Linked DNA regions of Homo sapiens: region 1 is linked to region 2. Evidence: promoter capture Hi-C in 16 types of primary human blood cells and fetal thymus (Javierre and others, 2016). All regions are on one chromosome and are shown on one strand. Each heading gives the region's core, a stretch centred on a gene start or on the middle of the fragment in contact. The rest is flanking DNA. Distances are from core to core; before and after follow the strand shown.

Evidence for each region. The method cuts DNA at HindIII sites, captures the fragments that hold promoters and counts their contacts. A CHiCAGO score of 5 or more calls a contact.
Region 1: a fragment that was not itself captured here is called in contact with the fragment with the promoter of SMYD3-AS1 in region 2 in 1 of 17 cell types (megakaryocytes); the score reaches 6.1 in megakaryocytes.

Annotation. Positions count from the first base shown.
Region 1 is chr1:246,212,499-246,217,311 of GRCh38, forward strand. All of the region lies in intron 5 of SMYD3 (SET and MYND domain containing 3), which reads right to left. Among named protein-coding and RNA genes, the nearest start is that of SMYD3-AS1, 110 kb to the left of the region's middle. The HindIII fragment of the contact is 2,846 bases long and covers 1,774-4,619 here.
Region 2 is chr1:246,106,537-246,111,470 of GRCh38, forward strand. SMYD3-AS1 (SMYD3 antisense RNA 1) reads left to right here and starts at 2,090. Exons shown (of 4, transcript NR_183265.1): 1 at 2,090-2,181; 2 at 3,246-3,357; 3 at 4,795-4,934. All of the region lies in intron 5 of SMYD3 (SET and MYND domain containing 3), which reads right to left. RefSeq lists enhancers at 3,515-4,016, 4,017-4,516. The HindIII fragment of the contact is 2,656 bases long and covers 268-2,923 here.

The DNA of each region.
Region 1 (4,813 bases), core at 1,947-4,446, 110 kb after region 2:
TTTTGGTGATTTTTATTTTCCTCTCTTTATTTTTTCTATGCGTTTCTAGGTTTTTTGTATTGACTGTCTACTGCATATTTGGTCACCGAAAAATGTCCCAACAAATAAAATCTATCAGTCTCATTTGACTTCCTATTAACCGATCTGTTTTATTTCAACTTAGAACTTCAACCCTCACTGGTATCAAGTACTGCCAAGTTGAATGATAGTACTCTTAAGTTTCCCAAGCATTTTTAGACCAGCAGTTTTTCATTTCCATAAAGATCTAATAAATTTGGTTAATATTTTCCACAGAGAATAGCTGTAATGAAAGCATAAAATTTAAGTTAATCTAAACAACAAATATGTACCAAGCACAAGGCATACAAATGTAGACAGGACGTTCTTGGGTTATGAGAAATGGATTTCAGTAACTTGCTCTCCCTTCAGTGTCCTTCCAGAAGATATGGGGCCTTCAGGTACAGCATTTCTCTGGTGTCAGAATATATAGTCTGTCTACAAAAGGAGCTCTAGTATCATCCAGGGCAGGTGATGACACTGTCTACAACTGCTAACCCTCTACCATCAGATAAACTAAAGAGTGAAGGATGCAGAGAAATGAATAAAATTAAAAGAATTCTGTCAAGGGAAATTAGTATTCTTTCAACCTTCCTCAATCTCATATGATGTCGACACAGATACACAGGATATCACATGCTCTTTTTGTCAGTTACCTGTGACTATGGATGCTGACAAAAGCACTTTTCTAAACCCAAACACCAAGGGCCAGACTTTCCAATGCTTACACAGCAGCATGTATGTTAATACCTGCATTATCAAAGGAGGAAACTGAAGATTTGGAATGGTGAAGTACATTGGCTAGGGTCCAGCTCATCCGCAAGAAGACAAAACTCCAGTGAGTTTTGAGTCAGGTTATCTCCTAAGTCCGTGTTTCCACCATTATAGCACATATGATCTTTGAGAAAATGGATAGGAGAAAGGCACCCATTGCAAAGGAATAACATGAGCAAAACAGAGCAGCAGAAGTCAACAGAACATTCTCAGGCCCTGCACACCCAAGTTTGCTAGAACAAGGGCAGGGGAACACTCAGCTACCTGGTTTGTTCACCCAACCTGCCCTGTCTACTGCACTTCCACGCCAGGACAGTGGCCCTGTTCAAAGGTCAAAACCAGTCCCACTCTGATGCTCCCCTCCCTGGCTCCATTCTCACTTCAGCATGATGATCTTCTCATGGTCCCTGAGAATATCTTAGCATCTGTAATGGCCATCGGCCATTGAGTAAATCCCAGTTTTAAACTTGCCTATAAAGAACGAACTTAGTGTGCTTTTCTGCTGCTTTCTCTCATTGAACACAGTTCTTTCTCTTCCTTCAAGAAGAACCTTTCTGAAGCACCTTGAATTTCCTAGTTTATAATCTCTGTGAACTCCTGCTATCAAGAGCTCTGCAGAGCTAGCTTCCATAACCTGTCCTCTTTGGTGACTCTCTCGTAACACCAAAAGCTCCCTTCTAACACCAACAGGCAAAAGATGGTCATGGTTTAATATTTTAGGTACTGTTCCAGAATTAGCCAGACTGTGGTTCTTAATGTTTGCATCTGTTTGTTTACAGAAATGGTGGTATTGATCTAATGGAACACTGGAACTTGGTCTTTACAATGGCAAGTTGTGGATGATAAGGTTGAAAAAGACAAGAGAGGAGTCTAGAAATCCAGTCAGAGATTAGATTTCACATCCCAGGTCACAAAATGGTAGGGAGATAATACATTTGTGAAAGCTTTATTTGGTAAAAGAATGCAAGATAACCAAAGAGGAGACAAATGTCATAGCAATCCAGCTATGAGTTGTGTACTCTGTGCTGGAATGGTAAACCAAGCATGGCAAGATATCTCAAAGGAAAAATGAACAGAACTGTCAATTAACTGTATATGAGGTAAAACAAAGGAAAAAAGACAAAGAGATGAGTTTTGAAACCAATATGTTGAAGCTCATAGTATCAGCTCATTTATTTAAGTGAAATATATGAAGGAATTGTTTAAAATAAAAACCAAGGAATTTTTAAAATAGCATGCCAAAGTAAGTAAATACATAATAAGTATGCCTCCAAGAAGTAAGGCTAAGAGAGAAACCAATTTAGATCAGTGGCCTCTTTCAGGAAGAGAGAAGGTTCTGCCCTATCCAGCATTTTCTATAAGGACAAGAGAAAATATTTTTTCAGTCTTCCAAAGACAGCTACCGGAATATTTAGGAACAGTCCTAAAAATCAAGAAACAGAATCTTCTGAATATGGAGGAATGATCATTAAAACAAAGAGGAATGGAGAATAGCAAAGCCATTTTGCAGCTAAACTTGCTGAGCCCCAAAATTATCCACTCATGTTTATGTTAGCAGTACTATAAAACTTATATATATGCTCTATTATCAAATACATTTTTCCACTTTCTAGTAGGTAAAATTCATGGAAACACTTAATTTTCTTTATTTATGCAGATTTTTACCTCTCTAAAAAATGCTGCTGCTGAGCTTTCTATTTTTGTTCATTCCAGTTGAAATGCGATGATTCATCGGTCATCACCACAATGGCCACACGCATGTGGAAGAGAAGCTCATGATTCTAATCTGCACAGTTGCTGGCGGCTAGATATGCCTAAAGAGGATGTGAAACAGCAGCTTCACTTCCAATGGAGATCCGGACAGTAATAAAACAGTTTCGCAATCTCTTCACTAAATACATCTTTGTTTGCATGGTCTATGTATATTGTCATGGGGCAGGTGCAGGAAAATATAAAATATACATATTTAAAATCCTACTGAGCTGCTGTGAAGTCAGTGACAAAGAAAAACACACACACGCTGGGGCTTCATGCATGTAGTTAAATAAATAACTTTGAGATCATCAAAAAGAGTCAGCACACCCATATTTCTTACTTGGCGCTCATTACTGTTCAAAGACACCATTTTTTTTTAATGCTGAGCCATCTTAAAACTTTGTCAGGCAACATTAAATTCTTCAAGTCTTAAGCCCTAAAGAAAGTTACCAGTAATGGGCAGTAACATTAAGTTAGCTTTGCATTTAAGAAAAAATATTTATCCATCTGCCTTCTCCCACAGAGTACTTTGGATCACTCTCAGTGGCCATCGTTCTCTGTCCTGTCTTCATGCAGCTGGGCTGAGCAGCAGCATGCCACAGAAAGGGGCCAGCGGAACTCAACTGTCCAAAGAAATGTCCAAACTGCTTCTGTTACGTAAAGCCAATGTCACTTTCCTTTTTTAAAGGAAGCCCTGGGGTGTAATCCTGCCTGAGATGAGTCCACTGACACGACAAAAATCTAAAATGTGTAACTATTTGGAGGAAAGTCAGTGTGTATCTTCCACTTGAAAGGTATAATTCCTTAAAAGGGACATAAAAATATTTTTTCTATTGTATACTCTAACAGTCAATAACTCACAAGGAAACCGAATAGAGAGCGAAAGATGGAGCACTCTGGACTAATGTGAAAAACAAACTCAAGGCCGGGCACGGTGGCTCACACTTGTAATCCCAGCACTTTGGGAGGCCAACAGGGGCAGGTCATGAGGTCAGCAGTTCAAGACCAGCCTGGCCAACATGGTGAAACCCCGTCTCTACTAAAAATACAAAATTAGCCAAGCGTGATGGTGCACACCTGCAATCCCAGCTACTCAGGAGGCTGAGGCAGGAGAATCGCTTGAACCCGGGAGGCAGAGGTTGCAGTGAGCCGAGATAGCGCCATGGCACTCCTGCCTGGGCAGTAGAGTAAGACTCCATTTCAAAAAAAAAAAAAAACTCATAAGCAGACTTCAGGAAAATGCCAAACAATAAAATACATCTCCATATTGGACAATATGGTGACCCCAACAACCCAGATAGACGCACTGACAAATATCTTCTAAATGCATCAGTACATTGTTTGTACCCTCATTTGGGGAAAAATATGCAAAAAAGATACCTAGGAACAAGTGGGAAAATCTGATATGGATTAGGTATTACAGAAAATATTAGAGAATTGTTACTAATTGTCTAAGACGTGCTATGGCATTGTTATAAAAGAGAACGTCTTTGTTTTTAGAATGCTAACAATTGATGAATCTAGGTGCTAAATTTCTGGTTGTATTCCTTCACCTTTTCTGCATTATTGAAAATATAATAAAAAATGAAGAAAAATAAAGGCATAAAAGAAGTTGTATTTAAAAAGAGAACATTAAAATAAAATTCATGATTTAAGTGATAAGAAAGAAATATCCTTAGAGTATTACAGTCAAGTAAAGATACCAGGCCAGTAAGTAAACTCTGAAGCTAGCTTTCTCACTAGAAACATTTAGCTAACCTGAGGATCCTGAACTTTCCCCTTGACGGAGACGTGGGCACAAAGCACTGGAGGCTGTGTGTGGGCCTCATCCAGACTGGAAAGTCTAAAACCAAACTCCTGAACAGACCTAGGATTTTCCAAGGACTATATGCTGTGAGTTAGAATCACTGTAAATTACAAAAAATCTATTCCACACAAGGGAGAGCAAAGAAGTTCTCAATCTAGACCCTAAATACTGGACAGAGGGGGATAATTTTTTTCTAGACTCATAAGCAGAAGTTGGCATCTAACCAAGCTTGTAGCCTAAATTTATATTATCTTTGTGGGAGAAGAAACCTCAAGCCCAGAAATTAACCTGAGCAGGATCCAAGGTTGTTAATGCCTTAGTTATCCATCAAAACAAAAGGCAAATTCACTCAGGGTGAATACACCTTCAATCCAGGCCTCAAAGAATTTCTAAAGAGTGTGAACTTACAGCTTAAAAAAC
Region 2 (4,934 bases), core at 840-3,339:
TACATCACACTGACAGAGAGGAGAGAAGACCATTAACTTTCTGAAATGAGAAGTCCTAATATACCGAGGTGCCACAAGTCACTTAGGATTTCCGTGGTTATGAAAGAAGAATTGAAACGTCTCTTCCCTCTGGTGGGTTTTCACAGCACAACTGCCACAGCTTCCAACTGAGGTCTAGTCTCTGACCTTCCCTCTTCATCAATGTTATCAGCATCTGGAAGCCCTCTGGCCTATGTGGAGCCATGGGGACAATGGAGGCAGTTTCAAAGCTTCTGTCTTATGACAGAAAACCTGGGTGTAAAACAACCTCTGATATGAACTACTAAGGGACTTGTATAGATTCCTTAAACTCTCCGAAACACTGTTCTCAACAGCAAAGTGAGGAGAAAAACAGCTCTCAAGTAGGGTTGGTGTGAACGTGAAAAAAGAGAAAGTAATACAAGAGTTGGGCATATAATAGGCTCTTAAAAAGAATTTTGAAGGCCGGGCACGGTGGCTCACGCCTGTAATCCCAGCACTTTGGGAGGCTGAGGCGGGCGGATCACAAGGTCAGGAGATCGAGACCACGGTGAAACCCCGTCTCTACTAAAAATACAAAAAATTAGCCAGGCGTGGTGGCAGGCGCCTGTAGTCCCAGCTACTCGGGAGGTTGAGGCAGGAGAATGGTGTGAACCTGGGAGGCGGAGCTTGCAGTGAGCCGAGATTGCGCCACTGCACTCCAGCCTGGGTGACAGAGCAAGATTCCATCGCAAAAAAAGAAAAAAAAAAAGAATTTTGAAATGGAAATGTATCTATTTTTCCTTTCTTTAGAAAACAAACAGAAAATGAAGCCAACATATCTCATCACAGATTGCTCTTTAAATATGCGACCTTATACCAAAAGCAGACAAGTTCACAAAGAGATTATTTTTATAATTTAATCACAGAAAAGACTAGACTATCAGGTAGTTGGTGGCTACAGAAGTGACTGCTCCCCACTGAAGCAAGGAATGGATAGAATAAGTCCTTGAAATAAATGCTCAGGTCTTCCCTTAGTAATTCTGGACAGTGGGGAAATTAGCTCATTCAAACAAAGTTTATTAAATAAATAAAATCCCAGCACTTGTCTCTTTAGACAAAAACCACATGGAAACAATACAAAAGATTGCTAATGCTTTGGCAAATGAATCACTCTTCCAAATGCCATTTACAAAAGCCCACCAGACCTCCAGCTGTGCTGATGCCATGGGAACCCCTAGGGCAATTATAAGTGGATTTAACTCAAGACCAGAAACACAGGAGTAATTTTTAAAGACCCAAAAACTTCCAAATAAATAAATCTGGAAAGGAATTACTGTTTACACCACAGAGCCACAGGTTCAAATAGCCAAACTTAAAGAAGAAAAAACACACATGTATATATCTACTTCATCATGTAATCTCTGAACAATAGGAACTTTACTGAGTTGTCACTAAGGAAAGAGCAAAATCTAAGATAGGTAGTTTCTGGAAAATGAAAGTCCAGAGAAACTTGGCCATAAAATGAAAATTATAACGGACTTACAGAGCTCGTCTTCTTTGGGTTAAGAAACAAAGGTCTTCTTGTGCAAAGGAAGAATTCGAAAGAGGAATTCTTAAGTAGATGGCTGATGCATCCACGTCTAAACATCCAAAATCTACCAAGCACCTATTACATAACTAAGCCCTGTGTCAGAGGCTGTGGAACAAGAACCACTAAAACTTATCTCTGACCTCAAGAAGTTTATAGTTCAGGGAAGTGACTGACAATCATAATACAGAGGCATAAGGGCTATCCAAATAGGGTCACAGGTTACGCTATGAATACAGGTATCACATCAGAAAATTACCGTACTTAAAATCTCAGCAAAGAGATCACACCCTCACACAATTAATGTTATCAACATCCATCCAGTCTCTCAAGCTCACCCTCTTCAACAATCTTTGCTTTACTGAGTTCCGGGTGGACTATTTAAATATCATACAAATTGATTCTGACATCACAATCACTGCCTGCTTCCTAAAACTTGCCCTCCACCGTCTATTATAAATGCTTTCCAATCAGTGCTCCCATTCTTCATTCTATTCACCACTTAGTTACTAGAATGTTTTTCTCAACTATGAATCTGACTTCACTCCCTTTCTTGAAAACCTCCTGTAGTTCCTGTTGTGTACGGGATAAAGGTCAGACAACTTAGTATAGCCCAGCTCAGTCCAGCTAGCAAAGCAAATACTAGCTTTATTCCCTGCAAGCAACGTAAGACAAAGACAACCACACTAAACTCAGTATTAGCAGACCACCATCCTCCCTGAGGCCTCCACTGCTTTGCACACACTCTTCTCTTTCTCAGAAGGTCCTTTCCCCTCCTCCTGTTGGTGCAGCCAATTCTTTCTCTTCCTTCTAATGCACCATCTTCTGTGTAGTCTTCTTTGACACTAGGTAGGGTTACATCTTTGCTCTGTGTTTCTATAACACTCTTCATATGCCATGGAACTGCATTCATTATATTGGTATAATTTTATTTGTCTTTTTTCTTCCTAGACTGTGAGCCCCTGGAGTTCAGGGACCATTTCTTAATCATATTCCAGAACCTATCACAATGAATGACACGAAGAATATATTTGATAAAAATCTGATGAATGAACCACTCTAAAATGCAACTCTAATAAAGAAAATTACTGCCTATTCAGTTGGAACTGTACCATGTTACAAACGTAAAATTATGTATAGTCTGATAAAGAAATACTATAATAGCCTTGGAAACAGCTCACATACAATTTTTTTTATAAATGGATTCATTACCATATAACTGGACCAGCTTACTGAAGAGTAGCCCTACAGCAGTCACTTCGCAGTTTGCAATTCATTTGAGGTTCAAAGCTAGCTCAAGGGAAAACAACGTTAGTATTAACAAACTTATTTTTAAGCTTAAGGTCAGAATTTAAGGGAAAATAAATAAATATAGTATGTTCTAAGAATCCAAAGGAATTTTTAAAAATTGCCCCCTGCAGCTGTAATTTCTGCATGGATGAGAAAACCTTAATTGCTTGCTGGCTTCCAAGAAAGCCATTAACCTGCATTTAAAAATTCAGCTTTCATCAAGAACAACCTCACATATCCAGCTCTCATGGAAAAAGGAATAGAAGCCTCTGACCTAGTTTTCAATTATTACCAAACTACTGATAATTGATCTCCTGGTCTCCAGGTTTGTTTGTTTTACTAAAATAAATTCCCTCTGGAGCTGCAGGTGCTTACCATGGGGCTGCGCAGGTGGAAAGCAGCCCAGTCTTACTATGAGGATGTCCGTTTGCCATCTGGGAACAAGGAGGAAGAAGCAGAGACCTGGGCAAGACCTCAGAGTAAGTGTCCTTTTTGGCGGCTCCCAGGGGTCCCCATCATGTGTTATAGGAAGGCAGAATTATTTGAGATAAGGATAGGAGCTGAAATAAGCAGTGCTAATACTGGTTAAAAGTTGGTGCTTCAGCTGCAGTCACAACAGATAATGTCTCTTCAGTTATATTTCCAAGCTATTTCTCATTTGGCAATGTACACTTACACCAAAACTGTGAAACTCTCGGAAGTGGCAGACCTTGGCAACAAGTGAATGGAAACTGTGAATTACAGTACATGCCACTGAGTAAGGGGTGCACATCTAGAAACCAGAAATCAGGTTCTGTCTTGGCTCAGCGTCTAACTAGATGTGTGGACTTAGACAAGTCATTTAACCATTGGGGATTCAGTCTCTTCATCTGTAAAGAGTTCATTTAGATGATCTCTTAAGTCCCTAAGATCCCCATTGTTAGGTCCAGGGTCAGGTTCCAGCCCATGCTGAGGCCGGAAGGGAGTGGGTAGATGAATGGCAGACAGCTGAAAGAACACTCAGGGGGCTACGGGTAGGTGAAATACAATTTTATTCAGCAGCTCTCTTACACTGTGTGTCTCGGCTGCTTGTTCCAGCCACTCCCAAGCACAGATCTCTGCTGGCTCTCTCTCCCTTTGGGGTCAACAGCTTAACTCTTTCCCTCTGAGCGCAAGCAAGCTGAGCTGTGTCCTGGCTCCCCGCTGCAAGACAGACAGATCTGGTGCTCTCTCTCTTTCTTTGGGTGCAAGCACGCCTGCACAGTGTCACCAGGGCAATTATACCTTTTAAAGACAACAGTGGCAAAGAGCCAAGTGATGGCCCTCCCATGTTATGGCTACATAGCTGTTTATATTACACATGGAGTTGCGCGCCTGCGCTACAGACTTGCTGAGTCACCCGGGATGTTTACCTCAGCCCATCCTGCCTGGCTGCAGTGCAGCCATGTTCCTTACACCTACCAATTTAAAAGTACTGTAATTCCATTTTAAGGGTTCTAAACCATGAACCATGTTCATGGTTTAGGATTTTAGATATTTCTCATTTAAACTTAGGAGCGAACTCTGCATTAGGACATTTCTCCTTTCATTGTCCATAAGATAACTCACCAAATCCTTGCGCAAAGAGAAACAAATATAAACTACATAAGAAATGACAGGTGAGCCTTACCAAGGACCCTGACCCATGCATAACATCTTAGTATAGCATATATATATATAGTATATGATAGAAACATGCCGTGGGCTTTCATACCCTCTACAATAGTTCATTATAAGTTTCATCCCCCAAAGAAGGCAACTTACATACTTAAGTTTTTCTAAATAGAATCCAGGTGCTTTCACCAGTGATGCTCTCCAAGGGATCCCATCATAGTAATCAGTCTAGCCAGTGCCAACTTCAGTTCTACTAAATTTAATGCCCTCTTATTTTGACTCAGGAATAAATTATCTCAATGGCTACTTACATGGTCCAGCATAGCAGAAAAAAAAGCCACACTGAGCAAGCAGTGGTCCTTTCCATGCTACACAAGCAAGAAATGCCTATAAAGACAGACTTGAGTGCAGTCTAAAGAATCTT